Regions from separate parts of the Homo sapiens genome. Here regions 2, 3 and 4 are each linked to region 1. Evidence: promoter capture Hi-C in 16 types of primary human blood cells and fetal thymus (Javierre and others, 2016). All regions are on one chromosome and are shown on one strand. Each heading gives the region's core, a stretch centred on a gene start or on the middle of the fragment in contact. The rest is flanking DNA. Distances are from core to core; before and after follow the strand shown. Region 1 holds the start of SPATA46 (spermatogenesis associated 46). Region 2 overlaps ATF6 (activating transcription factor 6). Region 3 overlaps ATF6 (activating transcription factor 6). Region 4 overlaps ATF6 (activating transcription factor 6).

Region 1 (5,424 bases), core at 2,311-4,810:
TCTTGTGGTTTCAGTGGTGCTATCCTTTCTAGGCCAACTACCTAGGTATGCCATATTCTAAGGGCCTTTGGGTGGCAGGGAGGAAAACCTGTGGGAAGTGAAGTGGAGACTACTCTCTGCGGATGAGCCCTGTGGCCTGCACCACTGCAGGGTGAGGACCTGCCAGGGAACAGCATGACAGCATCCCTGGGACACAGGGCCCAAGCTGGCTGGGCTCCAGATAGACCCACCACACCAGCAGAAGCTTCCAGCCCGCTCCACAGCAAGCAGGGTCATCAACTCCTGATGATTCTCCTAAGTGTGTATCTTGCCACATCATCCACTTTGGCACAATTTGCCTGTCAGGTCCCACATCCTTCTTATTTTCTTTAATCACGTCATCCGCAAACTAGCAAAGAAGATTTGGAAACCAAACCATTTAACTATTTCCCCCCAAACCAGAAAGTACATAGACAACAATGAAACTGTACGAAATGCCCGGGGAAGGCAAATTGCCACCACTTCCCAAATCAGACATTTCCCTGGTGGTCTCCTTATTGGTTTAAAGTGACTTTTCAGAGCAGACATACTCGTTTTTAAAAAGGCAAGCACCAAAAACACCTGTCAAGGTGATTAGTAAATTATAAGCTATTATTATTTTTAAAACACTCTTTGTAATAAACAGAACTCTGGATTATGCACCATTTTGGATTTCCTGTATTTTTTGCTCTCTACCCTTCATAACATAGTCTATAACGCACTGAATTCTTAAGTAATGTAAAGATAGCCTACCATGCACTCCCTTTACCCTTGTCTAAGTCTTTCCAGTAAATACACCTTGTCTTAAAATGGTAAGGTCCTTGAGGGCCATAGCTCCTGAAGTGTTTCTTTATCTTCTACAATGCCCAGCTTAGGGTCTTGCACGATAGTAGGCATTTAATAAGTTTGTTTAATTGAATTTGACTTTTATATGAATTCTTAAAAATTGCATGATGGACTGACATTGTAGGGAAACTGCTCACAAGTCTTTTTCCATTTATAAAAACCACTCAAAACTCCCTCTATGGGAGTGGTCTTCAGGGGCTCTTGAGGTCAGACCCGGATAACTGCCCTTCTATTCAAAGTGAAAGTGGGGCTCTGGCTGGGGGGTCCCTTTATCCCTATGTCTGAGGATGTGCAATGGGTCCCTTTCTTGATGATGACGCTAATGACCCCCACACATTATCTCTCTTGCTTCAGGACTAGAGGCTTGATGGTTCAGAAAATAATGGCAATGGAGGACAGAGAGATGACTGGACCCCAGCCAGGTGGCCCTCCCAACAGTACCCCCCAACATGCACACACCCAAGCAGAGGAGGGCATCTGGGGATGTAAGTCATCCACAAAAAAACAGGATATCTTACCTGTCCGAGAAAGGGGCTCGGAAAGCAGGTGGGAAACAAACAAAAGAAAGACACATTTTACGTAGTGACCAGTCACTTTGAGAGTGTCACCTCCTGCCTGGGCCACCAGCACCAGCATACCTCGGGGGGACACAGCACACAAGACAGGGGACCTGCTACGAGGAGTGGTGTGCACCCTGGAACCGCCAGGCTCCCACAAACTTTTCAGTGACTAAACCAAAACCGGGTCGCATTTTAAAAACTCTACACAGGCACTGAGAGATTCTGCCTCCCATATTTCCCCCCAGTATTTTAAGCTCCCTTTACTTTAAGTCTGAGGTTGCAGTGGGAGAGTCTGAAGTTGGCAGTCGGAGAAATGTGATGGGTCAAGACAGAATGCAATTCCAAGTCCTCGGGGTCCTGTGTGCATCACTCACAAGTATGCTACTGTCCACATGTCAGTCACTGGGTTTTAGCCAGGAAGATGTTCATCCATTCCAGTTTAGAGTCTAAACTAATAACATGGGTAAACCAAGTAGCAGAGAGATTTGCCCAATATCACACAGGTAGCTCATGGCGGAGCAGGGTTAGAAGTCACATAAGCTGATGCCCAGACTCATGAGCTTTCTCTACACCATAATGGACCAAATGAAATTGCTGATACCCCCCAAACTGCCAAAGTATGTGGCTTCAACTTACTTTCCAATACATGCTAATGTTCCAAACCAGGCTATCTGGGAGGAACACGAGGGGAATCATGTTCTCCCATTGTCCTTCGAATGTTTCAGTACCGTGAATAAATACACACAGGAAGACAACTCTGGGCTCTCACGTGCAGAAGCTAACTCACACCTCACTCACACATGCTCGACAGCACTGCAAAACAAGCCCATCACTATTTCCAGAGCGGCCATAGCTCCCCATGCAGCATAAACATACCTGCCATCTAGATCTGCAGCCCTGCTCTGTATCTAGTTGACATGTTGTGATAATCTAGAAAGGGGTGTCTTCAGCTTATCTTCCAAGTGTCACAATCATCTTTCACCTTATTCCACACCTCGTTAGTGCACAAGGTTGTTATAGGACAAGCGAAACGAAGAGGCAACCTTGCCTCTCTGGAGTCCCAGAGTCTCCCCATCAAACTGACTTAAGCAATGAGCAAAATAGTATTGAGTAAGCCACCCATTTGTGCTTTAGTCACTTGCTAAAAAGAGCACCAACCACTGAAAACAATATTTGGCCCCTATTCTTAGGAAATACACATTGAAGTACTTAGGTATAAAAGGACATAGTGTTTATAACTTACCTTCAAATAGTTCACAGAAAAAATTAAGTATATACACATACACATGGGGCAGGGGGCAGGAGGAAGGGGACGGATACAGCAAATGGGGTAAAATGTTAATAGGAAAATCTGGATACAGGGCATAAGGGTGTTCTTTGTATTGATTTTATTTTTTGCAGCTTTTAAGATGGAGTCTCGCTCTGTCACCCAGGCTGCAGTGCAGTGGCGCTATCTCAGCTCACTGCAGCCTCTGTCTCCCAGGTTCAAGCGACTCTCCTGCTTCAGCCTCCCAAGTAGCTGGGATTACAGGCACCCACCACCACGCATGGCTAAATTTTATATTTTGAATAGAGATGGGGTTTCACCATGTTTGTCTAGCTGGTCTTGAACTCCTGACCTCAAATGATCCACCCGCCTTGGCCTCCCAAAGTGCTGGGATTATAGGCCTGAGCCACTGCACCCAGCCTAATTTCTGCAACTTTTACAAATTTGAATTTCCAAAGAAAATGTGAAAAATATATACACCTCAAAAAACAAACTAAAACAAAACAATAAAAATATTTGCTGACAGAGATTAGGCTGATAAAGGAGAAGAAAAGGAAGGAGATTATTCAGACAGGACAGAGGTTTCCAGGGCTGGAGGGCTGGGGGTAGACAGTGTCAACACAGAAAACTGATGATAACAAAGATAAAAGGGGACAAATAGACAGCATCACTACAGTATCTCTACTACATTCTTCTCTCTGGGTATTGTCAATCAGGGCCTGCCACTGGGCAATGGCAAGTCAAATACAATCTTTACACATTTTAATCTTGCTTTCAGTAGACTCCATTCATCTTCCAAAGGGTAACCTAGTTGGTAGTGGAATCATGTGCCTTGTGACATCAACTGTGCTCAGAATGTTTATCCTCTGGACAAACCAGCCAGCCTCTCCAGAGCAGGCGTGTGATCTCTGTACCCCCGCAGTGGTCAGAATATGGAGAACTTCTCACTCCTCAGCATCTCTGGACCTCCAATCTCTTCCTCCGCCCTGAGTGCTTTTCCCGACATTATGTTCTCTCGTGCCACCAGCCTGCCAGGTAAACTTTGGTGCCACTAGGGCCACAAAGATGTGGTTTTTTTTGAAGCTTTTAATTGAGTACCCTACCAGATCATGTTACAGGACCATGATTTAGTGAGAAAGTCAAATTACGCATGGGGAGAAAATAATTTTTCAAAATGCTGCATTTGTGGTAAGTAGTTACTGCTGTGTATTGATTTTTGGTAAGGGAAGAAAGGGGAAAACTTTTTTTTTTTTTTTGAGACAGAGTTTCACTCCTGTCGCTCAGGCTGGAGTGCAATGATGTGATCTCGGCTCACTGCAACCTCTGCCTCCTGGGTTCAAGTGATTCTCCTGCCTCAGTCTCCATTTATCATCAAGTTTTTCCCCCTAGATTGTGCATGAAATCTCAAGGTGGCAGTATGTCTACATAGAGTAGAAACTAGTTTTAGCTCTGTTTTGACAAGTTTGGAGAGGATTTGGAGTTAGCCAAATCAGAGAAGCCTAAGCAGCAGCGTAAACTGATGAGCACATCATGGAATAAAGTTGGACACCCTGAGGACTCCCTGTTCAAAATACGGTCCTTAGACTTGCAACGTCTGCATCGTCTGGGAGCTTGTTAGAAATGCAGAATCTCAGGTTCCCACCCCAGATCCACTGAATCAGCATCTGTGTTATTAACAAGATCCCTAGGGGATCTCTATGCACAGTAAAATGGAGAAGTACTGCTCAGTGGAGTAGGCCTCCTAAGCATCCATTTGTCTACATATATGACATTTATAAATTTGTCCCCCAAACTGAACACAGCTGCTATTCTGGGATTTGAGGCAGGTCAGCTTTTTGTCCAAGTGTTAGCACTCCAGGGTGTGCCGTGCAGTGATGGCCCACGGGAACCCTGACTGTGGGTATGAGATGTTTCAACTGGACAATCCTCAAAGCGGGCATGGAACATTGCTCTGCAGCCTGTGACTCTGGGTCCCAGGATGCTCAGGAGACTGGCAATGCGGAGTGAAGCCATCCGCGTGATGAGATGCAGGAGGGTTAGGTGAGGGGCAGGCCAGGCGGAGAGGTGTCATCTGGGCTACATCATAAATCCCACTTTCCAGAGGATCTTTCTGAGGCCTGAATGAAATGGCCCCATTCAGAATTCCCCAGGATGTCATCCAGAATAGCTCTGCCTGGCTGAGTTTGAGAGGTCACTGTTCTGTTTCAGCGTTGAGATGCCTTGAAGTACAGAGGTTGAGCCCCTAGGTATGCCTGGGGGAGTCCCAGAAAGTGGAATCCCAACCTTGCTCAGCTCACCAGTGTTTCTTCTATAACCCAGACATTGCAAAGACAGCAGTACCCACTGAGGCATCCAGCCCAGCTCAGGCCCTGCCACCCCAGTACCAAAGCATCATTGTCAGGCAAGGGATACAGAACACAGCGCTCTCACCAGGTGAGGACTTCTCTGACTCTGGGCGGGAATGTGTGAGAGGCTAAGGATGAAAAGGGGCTGCTTCCCTAAGGAAGCAGAGGTGTCTGGAAGCTGGACCCCCATGCGCGGTCTTGTCACCTGCAGCCTCCTATCTGGCCCTTCTTCCTTTGGTAGACACCCACAGGCCTGGGGCTCTCGCCTTGCCTCCCCTCTCCTGTCTCTGAAACTGGTGTGCAAGAGCAGTTTCTGGCTGAGTGGGCCGTGGAGGGATCAAGATGAGCAGTGAGGCTGAAAAAAGGGTCACAGCCATGGGTGGCGAAA
Region 2 (5,646 bases), core at 886-3,385, 580 kb after region 1:
CATGTATACATATGTAACTAACCTGCACATTGTGCACATGTATCCTAAAACTTAAAGTATAATAAAACAAAAAAAAAGAAATTTCAAAGCATTATTTTTAAAAATCCTTTTTCATCATTCTTAACCTGGTTGGTCTCCCATGAAAATCATACTCTTTTCTTATTGGTCACACAACTTTTTAATTGAAAATATCACAGAAAGCTTTTGGATTTTTGTTATTGTCATTTTTTTAACATATTGTAGAAATTTTTCCATGCACCAAAAGGATAGAAAAATAAACACCCAGCTTCCATCATTATCAACATTTTGCCAATCCAGTTGCCTCTATCCTGTGCTCACCACCTTCCCATCCCAGCAACATTGTTTCATCTTCAACTGAAACACACGCTATGTATTAGAGCCTATTATGCCATAAGCATTGTGCTTACCTCTTCTAGTCCTCAAAACAAACCAACATAACAGTCAAGCCTAATCCTGTACTGTCCATGGTCTCTAGTCTCATAGCAACACTAATTTTCCTATTCCATGTCTTGACATGCATTGTTTTCAATACCTATACAAACGATGGGACTCTTATTCTAGAAACTGGATGTTCTACTTTCACCAGACAATATTCCTTTGTTATGAATTTTTACAATATTGCTGGCTGAGATTACTGTTTATGCAACTGTGGAGCAATTTTATAATTAAATGGGTCACTGACATGCTGGTTAATAAATTCTGGCAGACAGATCAGACAGTAGTCTGATAAACAACCTTGCATAACCCACAGGATTTTAAAATTACTTTTCAAATGCATTCTACCTAAAGAAAGGATGAAGTAGTAATATTAACAACTAGTAGTATCCATTTTTATTTTAAAGAAAACATACACACTTTGCTTTCCCAATCGTAACTTTAGAGAATCCACTGTTTGACTATATAGCTTTAACATTCATTAAATTTTAGGACCAAGATGTTCAATTTAATACATAAGTTATTTCCAATCATTTTGAAAGAAAGCAAGAGTTAGTTGGCAAGTGCAGTAACTGGCTTTAGAGAGTGACAGGTCTTAGGAAACTATGTGATTTATAAATTATAAGAAATCCCTACAACATGCTAGAAAATTTAAAGGTTTGCAAAAATGGGAAAGTACCAAATAATCACTAAGAGACAGAATTCCTAAGAGTAGCTAGTCATCATTATGAAGTGGTGAAAATACTTCAAAACGGCAAGGAAGAAAGCTAAATATAAAACCTACCTAAAAAGTAATCTATAGACTCTTATCTGAAGATCGCTAAAACATTTCAATCAGGAAACGTTGAATCTGTAAAATATTAGTGGATGACTGGGTTGAGGGTGTAAGGGCTTGAAGAGAATAATAAGAGGGTTGGTTCTAAAGAAGGAGTAAAGAAGAGGGAGGTATGCATACTTTGCTTTTCATCAAACCACTTCACTTTCAAAAACCTTTTCACTTAGATTCTAACGTAGTAAGCCTTACCCTAATTTTCCTCCAAAGACTAGATGTGCAATTCAGCACACTCTTTTATTTGATGCAATATAAGAAACTCTAAAAAAAACAAAAACAAGGCAACAAAAGCAAAAGGTGTTTTTTTGTTGGTTTTTAAATCAGGCATTAAGAGAAGCACTAAGTTTCAAAACTTACATCTGAACCGACATTTCTCATGGTACTTTGTAGGACAGGTTTAGTCACGGAAAGTTTTCCATTCACTGGGCTATTCGCTGAAGGGGCTGGTACCACATTCACCACGTGATTAGGGAGCTGTGTGACTCCCCCAGCAACAGCAAGGACTGGCTGAGCAGAGGGCAGAACTCCAGGTGCTTGAAGTTGTACCACAGTAGGCTGAGACAGCAAAACCGTCTGGCCTGCGTTAGAAAAAAGAAAAGGAATCAAAGGGTACACAACTACTGTGGCAGGGGAAGCAGCTTATAATTAGGTCTTTTCTGCAGACGTAATGGGTAAGATCAACACCAAGGGATTGGACACCATCAATTAAAACATTGGATCAATAGCAGCACACGCTTATGGTGACTTTGTTATGTTTTTAATGTGACCAACTAAATTCATCTCTTTGAGTTATCATTAACAATATACTTTAATATACTTTCTTATTTATCTTTCTCAACTAAACAGCTATCAAATTTGCTGTAATCCCTAGATTTCTAAGAATTAACCTCTGAAATTTATTAGTGCTAAAAGGATTTGTCTTATTATAAATAACAAATCTTTTACACTGAATATGGAGAGTCATGTATTCTAAATTAATAGGATTTACAAATGCATACAATACCAAAAATATCTGAACATAAACTTAGTAACTCAATATTAGAAGAAGAAGGAGCTACAGGCCATGCACTGTGGCTTACACCTGTAATCCCAGTGCTTTGGGAGGCCAGCAGTTTGAGACCAGCCAAGGCAACATAGTGATAGCCTGTCTCTACAAAAAAAAATTTAAAAATTAGCCAGGTATGGTGGTATGTGCCTCGAGTCTTAGCTACTCAGGAGGCTGAGGCAGGCAGATCCCTAAAAAGGACAAAAAAAAAAAAAAAAAAAAAAAGACTACAAATACCAAAAAACTTAAAACCATTTGAGATTAAATCTTAGCTAACAATCACGGTAAACATAAATCTGTGATTCAAAATAGTCTGTAGATGATACCAGCCCTTTCCCTCTTCCCCCAAAAATGGCCTTCAATTCTTTTCTGAGTATTCAGAGGTATCATTATTTTAAATTTATGCTAATCTGACGAGAATTATTAGAGGTTGAACATCCTTAATCCAAAAACCCAAAATCCAAAATGCTCCAAAATCCAAAACTTTTTGAGTGCTGACACAACTTCACAAGTGGAAAACTCCACACTTCTGGTCCTAAGTATTTTGGATAAGGGATACTCAATCTATAATAATGACAATGAAGATGATGCTGTTAACGCTGCAGAAAAAGTGCCTATAGATGACATGGTAAAAATGTGTGATGGGCCTAGTGAAGGACTAAAGCAGCATACAGTCATAACAGAAAAAGAAATCATGTCAGTTTACAAAATCAAAAAGAGACTTCTAAAACAAAAACTTGTTAATGAGGCAGATGACTCCATAGAAAACATTTTTAGAAGTCATCCAGCAGAATGCCTCCTCATCCCTAGAGGACCCACTTCCAGTCTCTCAACTGCTTCTGATGTTTCTTCTCACCTGAAGACATAAAATAGAGGGTACAGTAGGCTTTTAATGAAAACAGCATCAAAGGCAGAGACTGAAAGCTGCCATTTTTTGTTGTTGCTGTTGTGTAGTAGCTGACACTGGTATTCTGGTGATTCTACTGTCCTGCCTTGTTACTCTGCACACATTATTTTTTCACTGTATTAATGGTATGTCATAATTTTTGTTAAGTTCTTAGGTGTGAATTTGTGAATAAGTGTAAGAAAATGATTGCTTGTCAGTAGCATATGAATTCAGAGCCAGGAATGATGGTGGTGCCAAACAACTACAGATTGTCCACAGGAGATAGTGACAACTGTGCTTTCTGATGGTTCACTGTATGCAAACTTGGTTTCATGCAGAGAATTATTTAAAATATTATATAAAATTACCTTCAGGCTATGTGTATGAGATATACATGAAACATAAATGAATTTCATGTTAGACTTGGGTTCTGTCCCCAAGATATCTCATTATGTATATGCAAATATTCTAAAATCCAAAAGTACCCAAAATCTGAAACACTTCTGGTTCCAAGCATTTCATTTAAGGGGTACTAAACCTGTACCATTAACCTAAAGACTTATACAACTCATAACACTAATCTATTAAAAATTTTACTTGCCTGCTAAGTGTTTCCTTTCAGATCTGGCAGATTTTTATAAGGTGCTGAAAGCCTTGCCTAACATCCACAGCTGCTTGAGCCTATCTAACAAAATGAAGGTACTAAAATAACTGGCAACTAAAATATCATGTAAATTTATAATTTGTTTAAGAAAAAAAAAGCATTATGCTTTCAGACAGGTTGACCCATGTAAAACTCAGCTCAATATTTCAAAGGATCGGGGAAAACTAAAAATCAAAATAAAGCTTCAGAACACCTGTTTGTCAAGAACATCTGTCTTGGCTAAAAAAGATAACTTATAAAAGCAAAGCCCTTGTTTCAGATGGCCTCAAAAAACACACTGAAAGTAGCAGAATTTCAATAAACAGCATTTTATCCCAGATAAGAAGATCTAAAAATAATTTCATGGATTTGGAGTAGATACAATGTATTAATACTTCGGCATAAATGATCATTAAACATTTTTACCTTCTCGTTTTCCCTTGGATTCAGTTTTTCTTTCCCCCAACTTTTATTTTAGGTTCAGGGGGTAGACAGGCAGGTTTGTTACATGGATAAATTGCATGTCACAGGTGTTTGGCATACAGATTATTTCATCACTCAGGTAATGAGCACAGTACCCAACAGGTAATTTTTAGATTCTCACCCTCCTTGCATCCTCCACCCTCAAAAGTAGCCCCTGTTGTCTATTGTCCCCTTTTTATGTCTATGTGTACTCAATGTATAACTCCCACTTATAAGACAGAACATGAAGTATTTGGTTTTCTGTTCCTGCATTAATTATCTTAGGATAATGGCCTTCAGCTCCATCCATGTTGCTGCAAAGAACATGATTTCATTCTTTTTTATGGCTGTGTAGTATTGAATGGTGTATATGTACCACATTTTCTTTATCCAGTTCACCACTGATGGGCATCTAGGTTGATTCCATGTCTTTGCTATTGTGAATAGTTCTGTGATGAACATATGTGTGCGTGTGTCTTTATATTCCCTTGGGTATATACCCAGTAATGGGACTGCTGGGTCAAATGGTAGTTCTACTTTAAGTTATTTGAGAAATCTACAAACTACGTTCAGTGGCTGAACCAATTTACATTCCCACCAGCAATGTATATGCATTCACTTTTCTCTGCAATCTTGCCAGCATCGGATATTTTTCAACTTTTTGATAGTAGCCATTCTGACTGATGTGAGATGGTATCTCACTGTTGTTTTGATTTACATTTCTCTAATGATTAGTGATGTTGAGCATTTTTTCATATGCTTATTGGCCATGTCTATGTCTTCTTTTGAAAGTGTCTGTTCATATCCTTTGCCCACTTCTTAATGGGGTTGTTTTTTGCTTGTTAAGTTTCTTGTAGATTCTGGAGATTAGACCTTTGTTGGATACACTGTTTGCAAATATTCTCTCCCATTCTGTAGGCTGTCCTATTCCTCTGTTGATAGTTTCTTTTGCTGTGCAGAAGCTCTTTAGTTGATTTTTATTTATTGATTTTTGAGCTCTGTCACCCAGGCTGGAGTGCAGTGGCACAATCTCAGCTCACTGCACCTGCCGCCTCCTGGGTTCAAGCAATTCTCCTGCCTCAGCCTCCCAAGTAACTGGGATTACAAGCATGTACCACCATGCCTGGCTAATTTATGTATTTTTAGTAGAGATGGGGTTTCACCATATTGGCCAGGTTGGTCTTGAATTCCTGATCTCAAGTGATGCACCCCTCAGCCTCCCAAAGTGCTGGGATTACAGGTGTGAACCACCACGCCCAGCCTCTTTAGTTTAATTAGATCCCATTTGTCAATTTTTGTTTTTGTTGCGATTGCTTTTGGAG
Region 3 (5,099 bases), core at 2,143-4,642, 590 kb after region 1:
GTTAATAGATAATAGAAAGGGAAAAGATATAGGCAATTTGAATGTCTAAATCCAACAAGAGTTTTACTATTTCAAGTATATGAGGAATTCCTGCTGATAAACAAGAAGACAACAACTGAGTAGAAAAACTGGCAAAGGACAGGAATAAACAATGTATAAAAGAAAAAAAGTCCAAAAAGCTCATAAGAATGTAAATAAATGTTGAAAACAATAACCAAAGAAATACAAAGTAAAACAAAATAAAAGCAAACAACAAAAAAACACATTGTGCCATGGAGTAAAAATTAAAAAGGCAGACAATGCCAAGTATCAGGAGAGAAGTCACAGGGATCCTCAGGCACTGCTGCCAGCCCACAGAGTACTATGATGATCCTGGAGAGAAATATGGAAGCACTTGTCAAATTAAATACCTGCACATTCTACTACCCAGCAATTCTAGGCATATATTCTAAAGGATTTCTCACATGGGTCCGCAAGGGAACATTTTTTAAAATATTCATTATGGTGTAGGTAAAAATGTAGTGAATGCATACTTGAATGTTGTACAGAGTTAGATGCAACAGATTTGATGTACACAGAGCAATAGGAATTTATCTTAAAAACACTGTGCTGATTTTTAAAAGTAAATAATATAAAGATATCTACTATAATGCCATTTACATAAATTTAAAATACATGCATATAATTGAAATCAGATGAACTTTTTGATAAATGGTACTAGAATAATCATTTTGATAGTCATTTGGAAAAACATAAAATTGGATTTGTATCTCATATAATACACAAGGGTAATTTCAAATGGATCCGAGATCTAAACACTAAAAATAATATCTCATGATAAATACTTATTCATAGTCACTTAGAAAATATTCCTTCCTGAATAATTTTATCCTAAGCCACTAGATGGGGTAAAGCAAGACCACCATCCACGCAGAGAAGTAGCCTGGTGGAATGTCAGGGTCCAAGAAGGGTAGAGAGGGCACTGATATGGCAGGCGGCCTGGCATGAGGAGTCACAGCAGAGTGAGGAGGGCATCCGCATGGGAAGACAGCCTAGTGTAAGGACATCAGAGCCCAAAGGAGACATGTTAAAAGAACATAAGAGCTGGTGTGAAGGGACCCCCACTGGCCAAATCCAGAACAATGTAAGAATCAGAATAAATAATTATAGTAACGGATTATAATCTGTTGAATAAAATAAGAAACGATGAATCCATACAGATATTAACAAATAAGTGAACAAATATAAAGTGTGATGATGAACAGGATATTTTTACATAGTCTTAAAGTATCTTTCTCACAAAATATGTATGGCATAGAGAGAAAAAGCAACTTCACAATGGAATAGGTTGGCAGATAACATCTATGAAGGGATCAAAGTGAAAATAATCAGTATTAGAAAAAATCAAAATTGGGTCATCAAAAGTTGGACACAGACAGCACTTCTGTGACATTCCTGCCACAGATATAAAACCTGAATATGATCCTAAAGAAACATCAGACAAACCCGACTAAGAAATGCTCTTCAAAATAACTAACTCCTAATCCCCAAAAGTGACAAGGTGAAGAAAGTCAAGGATTAATGAAGAACTGTTTCATACTGAACAAGATTAAAAAGACAAGATAACCACATGCAATGCTTGATTCTGAACTGGGTCCTTTTGATAGTCTAAAGGACACCTCTGGGATGTCTGGCACAATTTAAACGAGAGCTGAAGGTTAGATTATAGTAACATATTAATGTTTATTTCCCGATTTTGTGCTTGTATTATGGCTAAGAAATATCTGTGCTTGTAGGAAGTAGACACTAAAGTATTGGAGTGATAGGGGCATCGGACTGGTAACTTACTCTGAAATGCATAAGGAAAAAACAAGTTATTTGCAAGGTACTCACAACACTTCTGTGAATTTGAGATTGTTCCAAACAAAAAATTAACATAAGCAAAAAAAAAGAGTAAAAATATGAGTGAATTATTTTATAACCTCTCAGTGGTGAAAACCTTCCTTTGAGTGAACAAAAAAGCAATTAAAGAAAAGATCAATAATTTGGCTATAGAAAACAGTACACCTGGGGAAAAATAAACACCAGAAATAAAGCAAAGAGACAAAAGAAAAATTGGGGAAAAAATATTTGCAGCTTATTTCACAAACTAAGGACTAATAATCCTAATATATAATAAAGCACCTAAAATATTAAAGAGAAAAAGACCAATACAATTCAATTAAAAAATGAACGGCCGGGCGCAGTGTCTCACACCTGTAATCCCAAGCACTTTGGGGGGCCGAGGCAGGTGGATAACCTGAGGTCAGAAGTTCGAGACCAGCCTGGCCAACATGGTGAAACCCTGTCTCTACTAAAAATACAAAAATTAGCCGGGTGTGGTGGCAGGTGCCTGTAATCCCTGTAATCCCAGGTACTCGGGAGGCTGAGGAGGCAGGAGAATTGCTTGAAGCCAGGAGGCGGAGGTTGCAGTGAGCCGAGATCATGCCATTGCACCCCAGCCTGGTAGACAAGAGAGAGAGTTCATCTCCAAAAAAAAAAAAAGAACAAAAATTTGAAATGACAGTTCATTTTTTAAAAAGAAATGCAAATAGGCCTTAAACATATAAAACATATGAATAGATATTATTTAACCATACTTATAATAAAAGAGATATAAAACAAAACCTATTGTGGAGTGATGATGGGAAAACAGGCCCTCTTACATACTGCTGATGAGGATGTAAAATTTTACAACCCCTATAGAGAGAAATTTGGCAGTATCTAGCAAAATTCAAGTGTATTTACCTTGGTGTCAACAATCCCACCTCTTGAAATATATCCCAAAAATATCCTGGTAAAAATATAAAGTGACTTATGTACCAGGTTATTTACTATAGGTTATTTGAGTCTGGAAAAGACTTATGTACAGGTTAATTGGGTCTGGAAAAGACTAAAAACAACACAAATACTCATCAATAAGGAAATCACTAAATTAAGCATGATAAGGCCATGCAATGAAACATTATGTAGCATAATGGGAAAATTATATACTCTGAAATTAAGAGTTATCCTGCTAAGCTAAAAAAACAAGGTACAGGACAGGGTATACAGTATGCTACCTTTTGTAATTATTAATTTTTTAAAAAATTAAATCATTTGGAGAAATTGTGGGACCTCAGAGAGCTACCAATAGCAGCAATCAGAGAAAAGCTTCATAAAGGAAGTAGTTTTTGAACTGGGACTTGAAGGATGAGTTTTCCAAGACAAGAAAAAAATGGGGCTATTCTAGGCAGAAGAAAGAGGATGTGCAAAAACCTAGAACTGTAACAGCAGCAATCTCACTGCTGTTGTTCACTGCCAGCATCTGGAACAGTGCCTGGCACAGCGGTTGAATGAGTAGAGTGCATAGGAGCTCTCAGAGAGGAACTCTCACAGGGCTCAAATTAAGGGGAATGTGGAAGTAGGAGGGGATAGCAAGAAAAGAGACTGGAAAAGTAAATGGGGGCCAGATCATGGAAAGCCTAGTACTCTGGGAATTTAAATTTCATCCTTGTAAGGACTGGGAAGTTACTAAAAAGTTTTAAGCAAATGACTGATACAGTAAAGCTTGTGACACTGAAAGATTTCTCTTTGAAGATTCCACTGCTAAGAAAGGTTTGAGGAGTTGTAAGGCTGACCAGTTAAAATCCTATTGACTTAATCCAGGTGAGATAGTGATGGCCTGGCAGGGGCAGAAAAGATAAATCCTTGAATTAATATGTGCATATAACCACCAGGATTTAGTAACTAAATGTAGAGCCTGCAGGAACAAAGATACCACAATTTATAGCACATATAATATACTAAAATATTATTTGATTTTTTTATTCTTATACTTTCCCTTTCCCCATTCTAAAAAGTACCTAAATCAGGTACTTCCTTTTCCTGGCCTCAGGGCTTTTGTCTGGACACAGAGCAGAAGTGTTCTTAAAAGAGCTACCAGACTTCTATAAAAACGTGAGCCCCTTCAAAAGGTAGCACTAGGCATTCCCAAACTAAGGCAATCATTCTAGATGCTGTGACTAAAGAGATATAAAAACTGACCATCTTACATTCTTCTATGTCCATATATAAAGAATGTATATCCTAATAGGGAGGAGAAAGAAAGGGTGGGAGAAAGGACAGTAAGCCAATAAACAAATACTGGATACTGTTAAAATGCAATGAAACAAATGAAACAATGAAATTATGGAGGCATGAACAGAGGGGAAAAGAGAGCAAAACCAAAGGCACTAACAACTTTCTAGCTCCCACAAGGCTCTTTCTTGAGTCTCAGTTCCCTCAATAAATGAGACAATATAACTCATAGTAGTATTCAATAAATGTTAACTGCCTCCTCCATATACATATTTTCCAGATAGCATATTATAACCAAAATCATTGTAAAAGACTGGCTACTCACAGGAACATGCTGAGTTGAAGAATAAGAGTCCACTGACCGAGGAGACGAGACTGAATAACTTGAGGAGGCTGGAGAAAGTGGCTGAGGTTCTGCCTTAATATCTTTAACTGGAAAACATGGAGGAAAGGTTTTACCCACTGGACAATAAAAACTTATAATAAAATGAACAAGAAAGAAGGTAAAATCTACTTTTAAAATTCAATCAGATATGGAAGCTAAGGTCACCAAAATATAACGAGTGAAAATGAAAGATGCAGAAAACAATATATCTAGTATGTTTCCACTTGTGTTACAAATTATATATATATGTGGGGAGGGGGTATATATGTATGTCTGTGTGTGTGTGTATATATATGTGTACACTTGCATCTGCACTAATTCTCTGGAAGGGTAAACAGAAGAAACTGGTAACAGTGGTTGTCTCTGGAAAATAGAACTTGTTGGCTGAGGAATAAAAGCAGGAGACATTTTTCTACTATACAGATTTTTGTACCTTTTGAATATTTTACCATATGCAAAATATTATAGCTTCCCAAAAAATTTAAAAAAATAAGAAACAGGAAATATTTTGGAAAGCATTTTTGACAATACAATTCAAACTCATAAAAAATGTTCATATCTTTTAAACTATTAATTTATCCTATAAAAATGTACTGAGCAACTATGGCCCAGGCAG
Region 4 (5,313 bases), core at 1-2,500, 530 kb after region 1:
CTCCTTTGATTTGCAGGGCTCACACTAGGGTTCATTCTCCTGGAATCCTGTTCCAACATGCTGAAAATAAAAAACAGGAAATAATAGCTGAAATAAAAATATGTCACACATATGCCTGCTACATGCAGCTGTGAAACAAACCACAATTCCTTTGCAGATCCATGCACGTAACAAAAATGCTAGGCATAGACGCAAGTACAAATAGGGTACTGAAGGTGTTCAAATCCTTAGCATGGTAACCTGCACATATCAAAAACAATTTTTCTAAGTATAAAAGTACCTTATTTATAAACTGTTTAAACAATAGTAGTGTTCTATATGTTTTAAAAACTTGATAATTACATGTATATATGAAGTAGAAATAAATACGACACACCTAAAAACAAATTTTAAACTCCAATAATAACTGAAATAAGAAGGCCTCCTGGATGGTGCAAACTGGTGTTTTCAATGAGAGAATACTTCAAATGAAGTAGGAATAAAAGTCAAATTCATTGTTAGCCTTTCACAATTCCAGAAGGCAGGCTATCAGATAAAGCTAAGAAAAAAAAATTTTTTAAATACTTCTATTTGTATTTATATGTAAAAACTTCTATTCTTTCTCCCTACCCTCCCTAATATCTTCACTCATCAATGTATATCCTCTTCAGAGGCATAAGCATTTGGAGAAAACAACAAAATATATACATATAAGCAAATACTGCCTACTTAACTTTTTTTTTTTTTTTTTTTTGAGACAGGGTCTCACTCTGTCACCCAGGCTGGAGTGCAGTGGCACAATCACAGCTCACTGAAGCCTTGACCTCCTGGACTCAAGCAATCCTCCCACCTCAGCCCCTCTGAGTAGCTGAGACTATAGGCATGTGCCACCACATCTGGCTAATTTTTATTTTTTTTAATTTTAGTAGAAATGAGGTCTCACTATGTTGCCCAGACTAGTCTCAAACTCCTGAGCTAAAGCTATCCTCCCACCTTGGCCTCCCAAAGTGCTGGGATTACAGATGTAAGCCACTGCGCCCAGCCTTAATTAACACTTTTAACTCATTAATAGTGCTTAGGAACTTGGCTCATCAATAAGACTTTGTGTGTGTGTTCGCACTTTGTTTTATGATGCAACCCACACAATTTACACTACTCATAAAATTCAACACAAAGGGAATCTCCCTAGAGAAGCACAAAAGATTCTATTTGGAGGGATAAAATGCAAGAGGAAAGTAAGGCTAATGAAAAAGGGTAGTTAAGGAGCCTGTGGTTCTAAAGGAAAAGCGGTTCTTTGAGATAATAGTAGTTTGTCTCCAAATTTGGGGAAATCAGTGTTGGGGGAAAACGGGGAGCAGACACACCTCTCTAGAATATTTTTCTGATCCCTTAATATATTTTCCATTCTCCTCAATTCTTCACCCCCAGAAATCATTGCTACCCAGTGATTCTCACATGGTATGCTTTAGCACTTGGGCATACTGCAAACTCTTCAAAGGTGTACCACCAATTAAAGCCATTGTGTAACATTTAATTTTGCTACAACTGAGGCTATATTTTGTCATAGCTGTATCATTCAGACTAAAGGTTTACCTGAGCAGTCACACATCAATATAAACCTTGCCACAAATGAGGTAAGAGACCTAGTGGAATGTCTGTCTAAACTTAAGAAAAGTCACCCTGATGAGTATTTAAGAAAACATGAGAGAAGCAGAAAACAATAGCAATTTGGGAGGGAAGTCAAATGAAGAGTGTGATGACAACTAAGAAATTTTATTTCTTCTTTAGGAAACTAACTTTAAAAAAAAAGTGTTTACTTTTTCTTTCAAGCATGGTGCCAAAAATTCTAATTATGAAAGTAAGCTATGAATAAAATCAAAGTTAAGAACTTTCCCCTAAGTTTAGAGAATCTCAATTAATTCAACCCCTACTGACCCCGCTATTGTTATTAGTGAAATATCCATATACTAATGTTCCTGTTTGGTGGAAGTACTCACTCCCTGATCCCTCCAGTATCTCTACCACCCTAATTATTAAGAGTTTCCCCTTGTTTTAACTAGAAATGTGCTTCCTTTTTAAAAAACAAAAAACAAAAAAACTTCCACCTTTTGATACTAGTTCTGGATTCTGTGGCTATCCAGAACAAGTCTAAGTAAGCCTTCTTCTAATGTCCAAAGACATCTAACATCCCCCTTACCCCAGGCTTTCTTTTTCAAGATTATAGTTTCTTGATTCTTTCACATGCTCCTCTTTACAGCATAGTCTGAAGTTCCTTTAGCATATTTGATCACTGTCCTATAAACATGCTTCTCAGAGGTAATGTCCAGAATTGGCCACAGTACTTCTTAGGTAGTATGACCACTACAGAATGGAAAAGGATAATTCCTCCATTTGTTCTAGACACTGTTGTTCTACTGATGCAGTCTAATATCGCATAGGCTTTCCTGGCAGTTATATTACACTCTATTTATATTGAGCCCAGTGTAATTAAAACCCTAAGTCCTTTCACACAAATCGATTTTGAACCATTACTTTTGCTTCTCTTCCTATCCCACCTCAACTCTGAATTTGTGTAACTGAGTTTTAGGATCCAGCTGAATAATTTATATCAATTCCTTTAAAAACACTTACCTACTAATCAATCAAGAACTTTTAGGCTCCTCATTAGCAAAAGAAATTCTTCCAAGAAAGTATCAGCATGCCATCAATATCCTGTACTGAGTTGTTATTAAAATAAAAAGCTCCTTCTAAATCTGTAAAAACGTAGGTTTATCTACTTATGAATTAACTGAAATACCACCTAGGTCAAAATTTCCCATCTTGACCATAAAGATATCACAAGAATGTTAAATGCTCTTCTAAGATGCAAATACAGTATATTTTAACAGTAGCTACCACTTTTGAGTACCTACTATGTACTAAGGAAATGAAGGCTCAAAGGAAGTTGAAGCTCAAAGAGTTTAAACAGTTTGCCCAAGTTTATGCTCTAAATAACTAAGAAAGTCAGGATTTGGATTCAGGATTGGAATTCCATCACTGCACTATGTTGACAACATTTCCCAGAATGAATGATTCATCCATTAATTTATTCATGTAGTAAATACCTATTATGTTCCAAGAACTATATTTGGTGCTAATGACTCAAAGATGAAAGATAAAAAAAATCAGAATACAGCAAGTCTTCAAACAATGCTGGTTCATGCAATGTCATTTTGTGATAACACTGATGACAAAAAAAAAGTCAATTCCCAGCCAAGGTCACTGTCTGTGTGGAGTTTGCATACTCTCCCCAAGTCTGCATGAGTTTCCTGTGGGTACTCCAGTTTCCTCCCACATCTCAAAGATGTGCATGTTAAGTTAACTGGCACGTCTAAATGGCTCCAGTCTGAATGAGTGTGCGGAACATGCGTGAGTGCACCCTTCAAAGGGATGGCACCCTGTCCAGGGTTAATTCTTGACTTGTGCGCCGAGCTACCAGGATAGGCTCCAGCCATCTACCACACTGAACTGCAATAAACGCATTGGAAAATACAAATCATTGTAAAATAAAAATGTGTACAGTATACAATAATCATACAAGTGCATGACAATAAATGATGTATGAAAGCTCTCAGCAAGCCTGCCATATTTGTGATTGTTTTTGAACTGTGTGGTAGGATGTGCTCCTTTCACTTTGAAAACATTTATTCCTTGATTTAAACCACCACTACTATAACCACTGTCACTCACTGATTCACCAAAAACTGGATTAATAATTATCTTTTTTTAAAATTTTTTATTTCCATAGGTTTTTGGGGAACAGGTGGCATTTGGTGAGATGAGTACGTTGTTTAGTGGTGATCTGTGATATTTTGGTGCACCTATATCCCAAGCTTAGCTCCCACTTATGAGTGAGAATATAACGCTGTTTGGTTTTCCATTCCTGAGTTACTTCACTTAGAATAGTCTCCAATCCCATCCAGGTTGCTGCGAATGCTATTAATTCATTCCTTTTTATGACTGAGTAGTATTCCATCATATATATATACCACAGTTTCTTTATCCACTTGTTGATTGATGGGCATTTGGGTTGGTTCCACATTTTTGCAATTGCAAATTTTGCTGCTATAAATATGCATGAGCAAATATCTTTTTTGTTTAACGACCTCTTTTCCTCTGGGTAGAAACCCAGTAGTGGAATTGCTGGATCAAATGGTAGTTCTACTTTTAGTTCTTTAAGGAATCTCCACACTGTTTTCCGCAGTGGTTGTACTAGTCTAGGTGACTTTACCAATGTTTGAGAACCATTATTCTAAACTAATCCTGTTTTTCACATCTTTCCTATCTCAGTTCCCTAAAAGGTACACATTTTTACAATAGATTCAACAGAAGTGGACAGTTTGGAAATAGGGACTGGGGGAGTTTGGAGGGACATGAAAAAGTACAAAGTGGCTATTTGTATGACTTATGGATAATTTATAAATTGAATTAATTCAGAACTATTGATACTTTAAGGTTTGTAAAGAATTCTTCTACTAATCATTGTTCTTTTAATGATTTTACTAACACTATGTAAACTGGCATTTCACCTCACAATTCATGGCTGTTAACAGGCAAATGCTTTGAGCTTAACTATCCTTGTAGTCTATCCCATCTGTATCCAGGCTGCTCTATAATCACTTGGCAGCTGTACTTACTGGAAATCAGTTTTAATGTTGATTGGTTTGGCTCATAAGTGGTCACTATTTTTCCAAGTGCCCACTTTGGTAATGATTATCACATTGTAATGACAATATACCCTTAACCATAGCTATTTCAGTAACTTTTAGCCTTTTTTGAGTTAAGGAGCTCAGACGCATTCAATGAGCTTCACAAAAATTATCTTATTTACATTACACAGAGTCAATAAAGTATTTTCAACAAGGGAGTCATGATGAAACAAAATTTAGGATCCAAATAGTCTGTGGGTCTCAATTTTATTATCTATCCATTGGCTAGAATATATTTTGAAGAGGTAATATATTAATAAATTCTGCTAAGAATCTTTTAACGTTTTTCACTTGTTTGTTTTTGGTTGTTATTATTTTTTGGCCTACATTCCCTGTAGTTTTTTTGTCTTAAAATGGAATTTCTCTTAAGCTAAATTACAGACAAGTTGATTGTCCAATTCAGCTAAAAAAACATTTAAATACTTGAACTCTATGAAATGACCCACAGAAACTAATTTTAACCATCTGAATAACTACAGGTTTGTATTTCCCTTATTTTTATTAACATCTGAAAGACAGGTAAGAACTTCATTTCGCTGCCAGAATTCAAGATTGTTTTAGTACGACTGTGACATCACAAATATTG

Evidence for each region. Contacts are between HindIII fragments. The CHiCAGO score rates a contact against its expected background, and 5 or more counts as called.
Region 2: a contact is called between a fragment that was not itself captured here and the fragment with the promoter of SPATA46 in region 1, in 2 of 17 cell types (M0 macrophages and erythroblasts). The highest score is 5.4, in M0 macrophages.
Region 3: a contact is called between a fragment that was not itself captured here and the fragment with the promoter of SPATA46 in region 1, in 2 of 17 cell types (M0 macrophages and M1 macrophages). The highest score is 10.1, in M0 macrophages.
Region 4: a contact is called between a fragment that was not itself captured here and the fragment with the promoter of SPATA46 in region 1, in 4 of 17 cell types (M2 macrophages, M0 macrophages, M1 macrophages and 1 more). The highest score is 8.7, in M2 macrophages.

What each region holds. Positions count from the first base shown.
Region 1 is chr1:162,374,990-162,380,413 of GRCh38, reverse strand. SPATA46 (spermatogenesis associated 46) reads left to right here and starts at 3,560. Exons shown (of 3, transcript NM_182581.4): 1 at 3,560-3,726; 2 at 5,011-5,124. The coding sequence starts at 3,624. It also overlaps a transcript of C1orf226 not described here. The HindIII fragment of the contact is 3,530 bases long and covers 247-3,776 here.
Region 2 is chr1:161,798,272-161,803,917 of GRCh38, reverse strand. ATF6 (activating transcription factor 6) reads right to left here. Exons shown (of 16, transcript NM_007348.4): 7 at 1,646-1,866. Among named protein-coding and RNA genes, the nearest start is that of ATF6, 35 kb to the right of the region's middle. The HindIII fragment of the contact is 3,864 bases long and covers 204-4,067 here.
Region 3 is chr1:161,783,421-161,788,519 of GRCh38, reverse strand. ATF6 (activating transcription factor 6) reads right to left here. Exons shown (of 16, transcript NM_007348.4): 4 at 4,424-4,530. Among named protein-coding and RNA genes, the nearest start is that of ATF6, 20 kb to the right of the region's middle. The HindIII fragment of the contact is 396 bases long and covers 3,195-3,590 here.
Region 4 is chr1:161,841,196-161,846,508 of GRCh38, reverse strand. ATF6 (activating transcription factor 6) reads right to left here. Exons shown (of 16, transcript NM_007348.4): 10 at 1-60. Among named protein-coding and RNA genes, the nearest start is that of ATF6, 78 kb to the right of the region's middle. The HindIII fragment of the contact is 5,206 bases long and covers 1-3,853 here.